Linked DNA regions of Homo sapiens: region 1 is linked to region 2. The links are contacts of gene promoters, found by promoter capture Hi-C in blood cells and fetal thymus (Javierre and others, 2016). All regions are on one chromosome and are shown on one strand. The core of a region is centred on a gene start or on the middle of the fragment in contact, and the rest is flanking DNA. Distances in the headings are between cores, read along the strand shown.

Region 1 (6,101 bases), core at 1,402-3,901, 1.2 Mb before region 2:
GAAAAGAGAAATACTTTGGTAAGCATCTACATCAAGAAATAACACTATTTTAACATATAAAAATAATACACGCATATGGTTATAATAAAAGATACAGATTGATATAAAATAAAGAGTAGTCTCAAGGGAGTAAGTGGGATAGATATATGTAACTAGTTTTCCAATCAAGTCTTAACACTTTTTCCCCCAATTTTTGTTTTCCCCCTTTATTATCCCTTAATGTAATGACCTTTTGGAATGATTCCACAATTTCACAATCACTTTCAGTTTTTAAAAGTTGGTCCACTCAGAAATTTAAATCTCAAACCCAGTGTATGTTGTACCTGTTTGCCTCTCCCCAGCATAGGCTTGACCTGTACTTCTAGGGACCTGTGGTGGGCAGTTGGGTTGTCCACTCTTCTCCTCTGGCTCTGACACCTGGAATAGAGACACATGGCCTTATTTGTCACTGACACCTTTCCCTTCTCCTTCTTTTACACTCTGGAGCCTCCATTGTTGAGGGCGAGGAAACAAGATTGGAGTTAGAGGGCTTACTATGCTGGGTGTGACTTTCATCCTCTGTCTGTTGGGTCTACCTGGTCAAGCCCAGGCAACTTCTGAAGATCCATTTGATGTACCAGATATGCACATATACTTGCAACACCCTATCTTATGCTTCAGGCTTCTCCTCTGCTGTCCTCCACCCCTGCTCTACTGTCTCTGCCTTGCCATCTGTCTCTACTTCTCTTTCTGGCTCAGTTTCTCACTCAGCCAGGCAGAGGGGAATATCAACCAAGGAATGTGATGCCAGTCTCTTCTTAGAACCACCTCTCACCTTCACAGGGGATTCCCTTGGTAACCCTGACAGCAAAGGGGGTGAAAATACTCTTCTCCCCTTTCCCAGGCTTCTAACATAAGCTGAGAAGCAGGATGGTGAGGCTGGGAAATTGGTCAGAGGTAGCAGAGCCAGTAGAGTTACCTTTTCACAAACCTGGAGAGAGATGCTTCACTTAGTCCTTGTTGACAATTCTCTTTAGAATGCAAAAATCAGAGGTTTAGTGTCTCTTCATTCTTATCTTTGGGCTTTAGTTGGGAAATGTGGAAAAACAGTAGGTCTTATTAACCATCATTTTCATATATATATAGGATTAAAATATAACACACATATATATACATATGTGTATATCTATGTGCACATAGATATATAGATATTCCCCTTTAAAACATAAGTTAGTTCATATTACACATATCTCACTTTGAAAATCTTTTCTTTTTTCTTTTTTTGTGGAGACGGAGTTTCGCTCTTGTCACCCAGGCTAGAGTGCAATGGCTCATAGAGTGCGATTATGGCTCATTGAACCTCCATTTCCTGGGTTCAAATGATTCTTCTACTTCAGCCTCCCGAGTAGCTGGGGTTACAAGTGCCCACAACCACACATGGCTGATTTTTGTATTTTTAGTAGAGATGGGGTTTCACCATGTTGGCCAGGCTAGTCTCGAACTCCTGACCTCAAGTGATCTGTCTGCCTCGGCCTCCCAAAGTGCTGGGATTACAAGTGTGAGCCACTGCCTCCAGCCAGAGCTTTTCATATTAACATGTTTAGATATAATAGGTTATCTCTGGGGTACTGAGAACCAGCAAGAAGTGGCTGGAAACACATCAAAGCAAACTGACCAACACAAAAAGCCTGAGTCTCAACCTCAACTTTTTTGGTAAAAATTATCTCTACCAAACGTTCCAGTTAGCAACAGCTACAACAAAACAGCAGCAGTGAACACTTATTGAATATTTGTATGTGCAACTGACATGAATATTTTATTCAATACTCACAATGACTTTTAAGATAGATGCTGTGGCTATTCTCATTTTACTGATGAGGAACATGAGGATTAGAACAATTAACTTCCCCAAGGTCACAGAACTAGCAATGTGGTGGACTCAGTATTTAAACTCAGGATGGTGTGACCCCTAAAATATATTCTTAATCAATTTGTCTTTGTTCATCTATACATTGAATGCTGTACTCTTACTGAGGATGTGGCTTCCCTTCAATTTTTCATTTAAATATAAATTATTCAACCTGAGTATTCATGTAGATAATTCTTATTTAGGCCTTATTTGTACTGAAAGAACCTCTAAACTCCAGTTACCCTAGACTCTTTGTTTATTTATTTATTTATCTATCTATTTATTTATTTATTTATTTTTTGAGACATGGTCTCATTTTGTCCCCCCAGGCTGGAGTACAGTGGTCAGATCATGGCTCACTGCAGCCTTGACCTCCTGGGCTCAAACGATCCTCCCACCTCAGCCCCCCAAGTAGCTGGGACCACAGGTGTGCACCACCACACCTAAGTTTTGTAGTTTTTGTAAAGATGGGGCTTCACCATGTTGCCCAGGTTGGTCTGGAACTCCTGAGCTCAAGCGATCCACCTGCCTTGGCTGCCCAAAATGCTAGGATTACAGGCGTGAGCCATCATGCCCAGCTAGACTCTTACATGTACACTATACCTACCCTGAAATTTATATTTCTTATATCAGTGTTTTACTCAAGACTAGTGTTCTGCATTGGTGGAATATGCAGTCCATAGCATGATTTGAGTGGTAAATGGAATTATCTTTCTGTAACTTATTAAACTGAGATGCCACCATTGGTGATTCATTCTTTGGAGCATTGACTGAAGTGAAAGTAAGAAGCAGGCGGATGATCTAGAAGTGCTCAAAGAAGTAAAACTAAATAATAAAACTGTTGCAGGAATTAAGGGACAGGAGAGACCAATGGGTGGGACAGGAGGATTTTATTAGGTGAGCACCAGCCCAGCGGATTAACACCCAAAGGCTGAGCCCTGAACAAAGACAGGGCTTGACTTTTATACATGAATTTGAAAGGGGGTTGGCCAGTTTGATGGTGTGAAACCTGTAGGGTGGGTAAGCAGCTTACAGAAGCAGAACAAAGGCAGTTTGTTAAACAGTGACAGGTTTTGCAACTGAAGCATATCTTGTGACCTTGCCATGCTGTACAGAAGGGAAAAACAGGAACTTATAAAACTTTGCAAAATAATTATGAGAATGATAAGGGGGAAGGCGGAAGCTGAAAGAGAAGAAAAACTTGTTTTTCTCATCCCTGCTCTGGGATGGCAGGGAGAGGCTCTGGAACCCATCCCTTGAGGGCCCTGGCTCTGCAGATAGTGTTATCAAAGCCCTTCCAGAGCCCTGTCTATCGCTGGGCCTTGCAGTGAGTCAGCCTCCAAGAAAACTTGTTTTTTTTTTTATATCTCCTGCTTCAAAACAATTACTTTGGAACATAGATTATTCAACCAAATCTCAAAGGAGTGGGAAGGAAGTACCCACAAAACACCAGGAAAAGTTTAAGAAGAAAGACTTGTATGTTTAGAGTATAAAATTGAAAGATAAAATTGGAGGGAAAGAGATTTAATGACTTTTGCCCTTAAGAACATAGGCCCTCAAAGTGCCAAGTTTGCCATAGAGAAACATATCTGTCAAAACTGGGACCCAGGCACTGGTGGAATGAAATGAATTAGAGGTGATGGGGATCAGTATAGGACACTCAGCAGGGCTGAGTAGGTACAAAGGCCAGGCCAAATTTGACTCCTCTAGGGGCAGACTCAAGTTCACATTGGTTTAAAATTGGGTTCCAGCCTGGGTGATCAGGCTGTTGGGTGAGTTTCTCACACAGCGTCTGGGTGTAATGAAAGCACAAATGTGACAAGTGCTGCCAGTGAGGCTACAAAGCTAGTGAAAGGTGGGATGTCATTCAATCAAATGTGAGGCAGAAACCAGCTGGCAGAGGTAAGGCATGCCAGTCTTACGCATTTTATGTTATTTTACTTTACGCTATATATACTTTTAAATTCCCCTTTTCCACAGAGGAGGTCTATAGAACAATAAAATAAAACCCCTTTTAGTCTCCTAAGTAAAAGGATTCAACAGCTTTTAGTAAACCAAAAATATAAAAGAACCATTAAATTAGAGAATAATAGACAAATAATGAGGTTAGGTGATCAGACTGAGGGATGGATACTTACATCAAAAAGAAAAAAACAGGCTTCCATGATTCACGACTGAGTCTGAAAGCAGCTGTTTTTAAGCACATGTTGACTGAACAGTGGCTGAGAGCTAAGCACTTGTCATGACTGATCTTACTGGATTTTCCTAATAACCCATGATGTGAGTATTATTATTTCCATTATTATTATTTTTAAATCTAACAGGGAATCTAAACCTTGGCTTGGGTAACTTACTCAGAGTTTCACAGCCAGGTCATGGCCAAAGCAGAATTTGAACTTGGTTTGGCTTTAGAACCTGGGCTTTTAATCGTACTTGATACCTACTCTGAAGGCAGCAGATATTGGGAATCAAGTCAGAAGGAGACTGGGATTCACAGCCAGGATATCCATTCCCTGAAGATGCTGGGTAACAAGAGACTAAGGCAGGAAGTGTGGATGGGGAGCAAGGTCAGAACACGAGGAGTGTCTAAGAGCATCTCCTACCTGGGTTCTGTACTGAACATACAAGTAGAACTTCAGGGACAGTAACTTTGAAGGTTAGGAAGAGAAACAGAAAGGGAATCTAGAATGTGTCACACCATTCCCCCCTTGCTTGGCTGTGAGGCCTTCTGAATATCTGAAGCAAATAGGTTAATTAAAACAAAAGGTAACATCCTCAGATCACCTTAATCTACTCTAGATGGTGCCACAAGGTGCCAAGTGGTCTCTATTTATTTATTTATTTATTTATTTATTTATTTTGAGACAGAGTCTATTTTGCCCAGGCTGGAGTGCAGTGGCACGATTTCAGCTCACTGCAACCTCTGCCTCCCAGGTTCAAGCAACTCTCGTGTCTAGCCTCCCAAATAGCTGGGATTACAGGCATGCACCACCATGCCCAACTAATTTTTTTATTTTTAGTAGAGATGGGGTTTTGCCATGTTACCCAGTCTGGTCTTGAACTGGCCTCAAGTGATCTACCCTCCTTGGCCTCCCAAAGTGCTGGGATTACAAGCGTGAGCCACCGTGCCTGGCCCCAAGTGGTCCCTTCTAAGAGAGGTTTTCAAGCGACAGAGTCCCTGGTGTCTAAGGATAGACACTGGGCCATTGTCCATGTCTGGGAGGTAACCTAAGGAGGTGAAAGTTCACACAGCCATGAAATAATAGATGTAGTCTAAAGAATAAGCAAAAAAGAACAAAGAAGAATAATAAGGAATAAATGAAGGCTGAGTTATTTAGAGCTGGACGAGGGCCTGTTTCAGAAGAGGAAGTAAGTGGACGCAGCCCCGGCAGCTGCCACAGGATGAGTGTGTGATTTAGATAACTAACGTCTAGACTGAGAGCTACAGGGTTGCATATTTTTCTCACTTCATTGGATATTCTCTGCACAGTCAGCAACCATGAAATACAATAAACTGTTAAAAAACTTTAGACAAATTAAATTTAACAGAATTAAATTGCACAAGGAAGGATTCTCAAATCAGGCAGGCCCCTGACCCACTAACCGGAATAGGTTTAGAGACATCCTGGTGCTGCCACATGGTCAGAGATGATTTATGGACATAAAAAGAAAAGTGAGGTGCAGGAAATGGAAGTAAGGTACAGAAACAGCCCAATAGGTTACAACTCAGTATTTGCCTTATTTAAACGTGGTTTGGCTGGGCGCAGTGGCTCATGCCTGTAATCCCAGCACTTTGGGAGGCGAAGTGGGCAGATCTCTTGAGGTCAGGAGTTCAAGATCAGCCTGGCCAACATGGTGAAACCCCATATCTACTAAAAATACAAAAATTAGTTGGCCGTGGTGGCATGCACAGGTAATCCCAGCTACTTGGGAGGCTGAGGCAGGAGAATCGCTTGAACCCAGTAAGTGGACGTTGCAGTGAGCCGAGACTGCACCAGTGCACTCCATCCTGTGCGACAGCAAGACTCCGTCTCAAAAAACATAAAAATAAAAAACATGGTTTGAACAATCAGCCACCTGTGAGTGGTTGAGCATGGCTTCTGTGCTTGGCTGAGATTTGGCTACTTGTTACAACAGCCATTACAGTCTGTTTACACATCCAATTAGGTTATAGTTCACTATGTATGGAGAAACCTGTAGGCCAGGGATGTCC
Region 2 (5,832 bases), core at 1,194-3,693:
TTCAGCACTCACCATTATGTTCTAGGCTCCACATACAAAGATGGACAAAACTCAGTCCCTTTAACTTTTTTTTTTTGAGACGGAGTCTCGCTTAGTAGCTCAGGCTGGAGTGCAATGGCACGATCTTGGCTCACTGCAACCTCCGCCTCCTGGGATCAAGTGATTCTCCCGGGATCAAGCGATTCTCCCACTTCAGCCTCCTAAGTAGCTGGGATTACAGGAACCTGCCGTCATGCCTGGCTACTTTTTGTATTTTTGTGGAGACGGGCTTTCACCACGTTGGGCAGGCTGGTCTTGGAACTCCTGACCTCAGGTGGTCCGCCTGCCTCGGCCTCCCAAAGTGCTGGGATTACAGGCATGAGTGACCGCGCCCAGCCAGTCCTTTTAACTTTTAAGGAGCAAGAAGTCTATTAGGGAAACTGAAAGATGAATGCATACTTCAAAAGGAAATGTTCAGAGCACGGGCCGGGTGTGGTAGCTCACGCCTGTAATCCCAGCACTTTGGGAACCCGAGGTCGGCGGATCACTTAAGGTCAGGAGTTCGAGACCAGCCTGGCCAACATGATGAAACACCGTCTCTACTAAAAATACAAAAATTAGCCTGGTGTGGTGGCATCGCCTGTAATCCCAGCTACTCGGGAGAGTGAGGCAAAGAATCACTTGAGCCGGGAGGCGGAGGTTGCGGTGAGCCAAGATCACGCCACTGCAATCAAGCCTGGGCGAGACTCCGTCTCAACAAAAACAACAACAACAAAATATTTAGAGCACGGCCATATTAGGAACTATAGAGACCCTAAATACTAAAAGCGTTATGGCACCTGTTTGCCTGCTTGTAATATAAAATTAAAATTCCAAAGGTAGAAATGTACTGGGATGCAGAGATTAAGACAGCATCTTCCTGGATTTTCTGATTGCAAACTTCAGATAAATCCACTGAAGTCAAATGTTTCTCATGTTTTTGGTTAGCTTTTTGGTCAAGCCAGCATGACTTTTTCATTTTTTATTATTATTTTTTTGAGACAGAGTCTCACTGTTGCCCAGGCTGGAGTGCAGTGGCATGATCTCGGTTCACTCCAGCTTCCGCCTCCCAGGTTCAAGCGACTCTCCTGCCTCACCCTCCCAAGTAGCTGGGATTACAGGTGCGTGCCACCACTAATTTAGCCCAGCTAATTTTTGTATTTTTAGTAGAGATTAGGTTTCGCCATGTTGGCCAGGCTGGTCTCGAACCCCTGACCTCAGGTGATCCGCCAGCCTCGGCCTCCCAAAGTGCTGGGATTACAGGCGTGAGCCACCATACCCAGCCAGCATGACTATTAACTGAAAAAAAAAAAAAAACCTCAGGGTGTGGAAGTGCTCAGAGGCATTCAATGCTGATGTAGCGTGTCAAGGAAGCAGTCTCTTAAGTGTTGGGCAAATGAAAGGAATAAGACAAAATGAAGTGTTTATCAAGCTCAAAAGCAGAAGGTTGTACCTGATTATTTCTAAGGTCTTTCATTTGCTCATTTAATCTAAGCTACTTCACATCATTTGAAGAGAAAGTAAATTATCTCGCTTTCTGAGATGCAGGAGAGATTCCCCGTCCCCAAATCCCACTATCATCAACAACACAACTTCCTCAAGTTCTTCACTCACACACATACCACCTGCTGAACCCTGAAGCTTCAGTCACTCATTCCTAGCTACTCCAACCACAAGGGACCTACGGGCCTGCCAACCAGGCACACGCCACGCCCTCCCTATGGTGGACTCCTATTCATCCTCCAAGACCCAATTTAACTCCTCCTCTCTGAAGCCTTCCCCTAGCCCCCTGGTGGGGATAATCACTCCCTTCTTGGTGCCTCATCCGAATGCCTTCTTTAGACATCCCTCTACTGTGCGTCTGCCCCATTATACTGTCAGCTCCTTGAGGCCAAGGAATAAGTCTGAGGGCTGTGCCTAGGATAGGATGAATGGCGGCCATTTTACAGATGAGAAAAGCAAGTCTCCAGGTGAACAGAGGAGCTGAGGAAACTGACCAACAGCCAGATCTCCCGACTCGTCCAGACTTTAAAAGCTGAGTCCACCATTACCCTCATCCAGCGACCCCAGAACCCGCGCCAACTTCTGGGGACGCGGAAGCCTGGAAACTCAAGTTTTCTTTAGGGAATGAATGGACAGGGGCCCGTGGAAGGCGCAGAGAGGCAGCAGACGGGGAGAGAACCAAGAACCCGCCAGTCTGGCTTCAGATTGCTCCGCTGGACCGCGGTAGCGGCCAGGGATTCTACGGTCAAGACAACTTGGGGGTGGCCGGTCGACCACCAGAACCCGACAGAGAGGAATTCACACTCTCAGACCCAGGCCGACCCCATCACAAGTAAGGACAGCCCCTCTCCAAAGCCCACCCGCCGCTGCTTCCTTACCAAGGAAAGACGGCCATCTTCCCAGTCACATGACCGCTTGTTCTGGGGCCGTCTGCTCGGCTTCCCATCCTTACCCCGCCACTCCCCGCACCCCTCGGCCGCCATGTTTGTGAAGGGCAGCTGGCCGCCCCGCAGCGGCCGCACAGCACCTTCTGCAGACGCCATGCTTGTGAGGGGCAGGCGACGCTCCGCACAGCACAGGCTTCATTTTCAGCTGACGCCATGCTTGTGAGGGGCAGCTCCCCGCTCCGGACAGCCCGGGTTACAACTCCCGCCGGCGCCATGCTTCGGAGGAGCAACGTCGGCCACGGCCAGAGTGCCGTAGTTTCTATGAGTCATGATTGTAAAGGGCAGCTGTCTACAGTGCCGGGTGGTCCCGCCTGCGGGCGTCATGATGGTAAAGGGCATGACTGCTGCTTAGCTCACCTGCGTCCTCTAGGGGCAGAAAGGACTCCAGAAGGCGGCGGAGCGAAGACGCAAACTGAGGTTCAGCCAGTACCTGGTTTTGCGGCTAATACGCTGTTTGGCGTGGGACAGCCATGCCCCCTCTAGGCCGCTGCTTTACCCACTGCTTTGCGGGCGGTTTTAGACACTTGCAGAATGCCCTTCCCACGACTAGCAACCGAGGGCTGCCCTAGATCTAATATGATTGACTACAGCTAATGCACGTGGGGAAATTAGGGTTCGCATTTCGTCCAACTTGGCAAAGCAGTGTTTCTAGGAAGGTGGATATCCATTTCGACCACAGAACGTTTTTAAAAATTATTTTAGGCCGGGAGCGGTGGCTCAGGCCTATGATCCCAGAACTTCGGGAGGCCGAGGTGGGTGGTTCACCTGATGTCAGGAGTTCGGGACCAGCCTGGCCAACATGGTGAAACCCCGTCTCTACTAAAAAATACAAAAACTAGTTGGGTATGGTGGCGGGCGCCTGTAATCCCAGCTACTCGGGAGGCTGAGGCAGGAGAATTGCTCCAACCCGGGAGGATGAGGTTGCAGTGAGCCGAGATTGCGCCATTGCACTCCAGCCTGGGCTACAAGAGCGAAACTCCATCTCAAAAAAAAATTTTTTTTTTAATTATTACTTTTATAACTTACTTAGATATCCATTATGGTCCCTTAGAGAGAAAGCATTCGATGTTTTTATAACTCTTACTTTTCATTCGGGGGTGGTGGTCTGTGGTTGTTCATGAGATGGTGACCTATGACAGGGAAAAGGATCATCTCCAGAACGGGCCCTCCAGTGTTCAGCTCAGTATGAGTAGGAAAGTATATCCACTCGTACCTGCTATTCCCAACACTGGAAGTGAACAAGGGTTAAAGGGTGGCCACGGGAAAGCAAGGAGCTCTTCCCATACAGCCATGCATGTTATCACATGCAACATCTCAATAAGAGGTCAAGGTGAGGAGCCTTTTCCTAGGCTCACACTGCATGATTAGGCAGTAACAAGAGGAGGATTCTTAAAGTTGTGCAAATTAACAGCTTTGATGTGAGCTTCAACCTTCGCATTCTCTTTTCTCCCTCTCCTTCCCTTAGCAGGCTTCTATCTCTTAATAAGTTAAGACATTTCCAGCCTGAGTTTTACCTTCTGAAAAGTCCAACTTTTAGTAGAGACGGGGTTTCACTATGTTGGCCAGGCTGGTCTCAAACTCCTGACCTCAGGTGATCCTCCCGCCTTGGCCTCCCAAAGTGTTGGGATTACAGGCGTGAGCCACTGCACCTGGCCCAGGGGACATATTAAATAATGAGATATATCTTTCATGGAACTTGTAAAGAATGATTATATACAATATTTGTTTTGGCCTAATACTTTTCAATATCTGTTTCTTTTTTCTTTTTTGTTTTGGAGACAAAGTCTCATTCAGGCTGGAGTGCAGTGGTGCGATTATAGCTCACTGCCACCTGTAACTCCTGGGTTCAAGTGATCCTCCTGCCTCAGCCTCCAGCGTACCTAGGACTACAGATGTGAACCACCATGCCTGGCTAATATCGGTTTCTTTTTTGTTTTGTTTTGAGATGGAGTCTTGCTCTGTCACCCAGGCTGCAGTGCAGTGGCACAATCTCGGCTCACTATAGCCTCCCCATCCCAGGCTCAGGCGATTCTCCTGCTTCAGCCTCCCAAGTAGCTGGAACTACAGGCATGCACCACTACGCCCAGCTAATTTTGTATTTTTAGTAGAGACGGGGTTTCACCATGTTAGCCAGGCTGATCTCAAACTCCTGATCTCATGATCCACCCACCTTGGCCTCCCAAAGTGCTAGAATTACAGGCATGAGCCACCATGCCCGGCCTATTTCTTAATAGTCCTTCCCCTGGTAAATAAAAACAATCAAACTAGATTTTCTTTAAGATGAAAAGTTTATTTTGCTTTTTGCCTAGAAGCAAAACTAGTGAAAATAAAAGTATAAAAATAAATACAATTTACATTAATGAACATTCCACTCAAAGTAAAAATAAGCAAAAAAAGTATATAAATAAAAATCCATCAAAAGCACAAACAGTGTCTGGCACCTGTATGAGAAGAAGCTATGAACACCAAAAAAGAATGTGTAAAACACAGGCTTTTATCTTTAAATTAAAAACACTCAAGTTTCTCATCCTTACTCTAAAGCTAGTTTTAACTTTCTCCAAAACTATTTGTTTTAACTAATTTGCATTACACACACAAAAAGTGCACAAAACTTTTAGCATCTTTCTTACTGGAGAGACCCACAATGCTATGAATAAGCTGTATCCTGAGTTTTCAGAATGATAAAGCACAGTTTATCATATTAAGAAGACAATTTGATACTTTGCCTATAAATTTTAAAAAATTGGTAACTTGGACTTTTTTTGACCATCTTCTAATTTTCTGGTTCACTCATTCAATACATGATACATCTCAATAAAGAAAATCAAGTTTACACCCAGGGTGGCTTATTATTTCTGTCTATAGCTGGATGTCAAAGTTAAATTTAAAATGGCACAGAAAATTGGAGAAAACAATCTTCATCTCCATATTCTTAAAAGGATATTAAGAATATATATAGGTTGCATTTTCAAAATACCAGTATCTCTTTAAAATTTAAATTAGATTAAATATACACTGTCTCAATTTTATGTGAAAAGCACAAAGCCCTTTTTGGAAATGGTATGATAAATTAATAGTGACATTCTCCCTCATGAAGTCACGTTATCTTGGTAACATTTGTTGGTTGATACTTTTTTTTTTTTTTTTTTTTGAGACAGTGTCTTGCTCTGTTAACCCGACTGGAGTGCAATGGCACAGTCTCAGCTCACTGCAACCTCTGCCTCCCAGGTTCAAGCAATTCGCCTGTCTCAGCCTCCCAAGTAGCTGGAACTACAGGCATGCACCACCATGCCTAATTTTTGTATTTTCAGTACAGATGGGGTTTCGCCATGTTTGGTCAGGCTGGTCTCAAACTCCTGACCTC

The links. Contacts are between HindIII fragments. The CHiCAGO score rates a contact against its expected background, and 5 or more counts as called.
Region 1: a contact is called between a fragment that was not itself captured here and the fragment with the promoter of VPS35L in region 2, in 1 of 17 cell types (activated CD4 T cells). The highest score is 5.5, in activated CD4 T cells.

What each region holds. Positions count from the first base shown.
Region 1 is chr16:20,744,226-20,750,326 of GRCh38, reverse strand. It overlaps a transcript of ACSM3 not described here. Among named protein-coding and RNA genes, the nearest start is that of THUMPD1, 5.5 kb to the right of the region's middle. The HindIII fragment of the contact is 7,304 bases long and covers 1-6,101 here.
Region 2 is chr16:19,552,314-19,558,145 of GRCh38, reverse strand. VPS35L (VPS35 endosomal protein sorting factor like) reads right to left here and starts at 2,443. Exons shown (of 31, transcript NM_020314.7): 1 at 2,400-2,443. The coding sequence starts at 2,416. CCP110 (centriolar coiled-coil protein 110) reads right to left here. Exons shown (of 14, transcript NM_001323572.2): 14 at 4,738-5,832. RefSeq lists enhancers at 1,759-1,988, 1,847-2,809, 2,369-2,848. The HindIII fragment of the contact is 7,423 bases long and covers 1,662-5,832 here.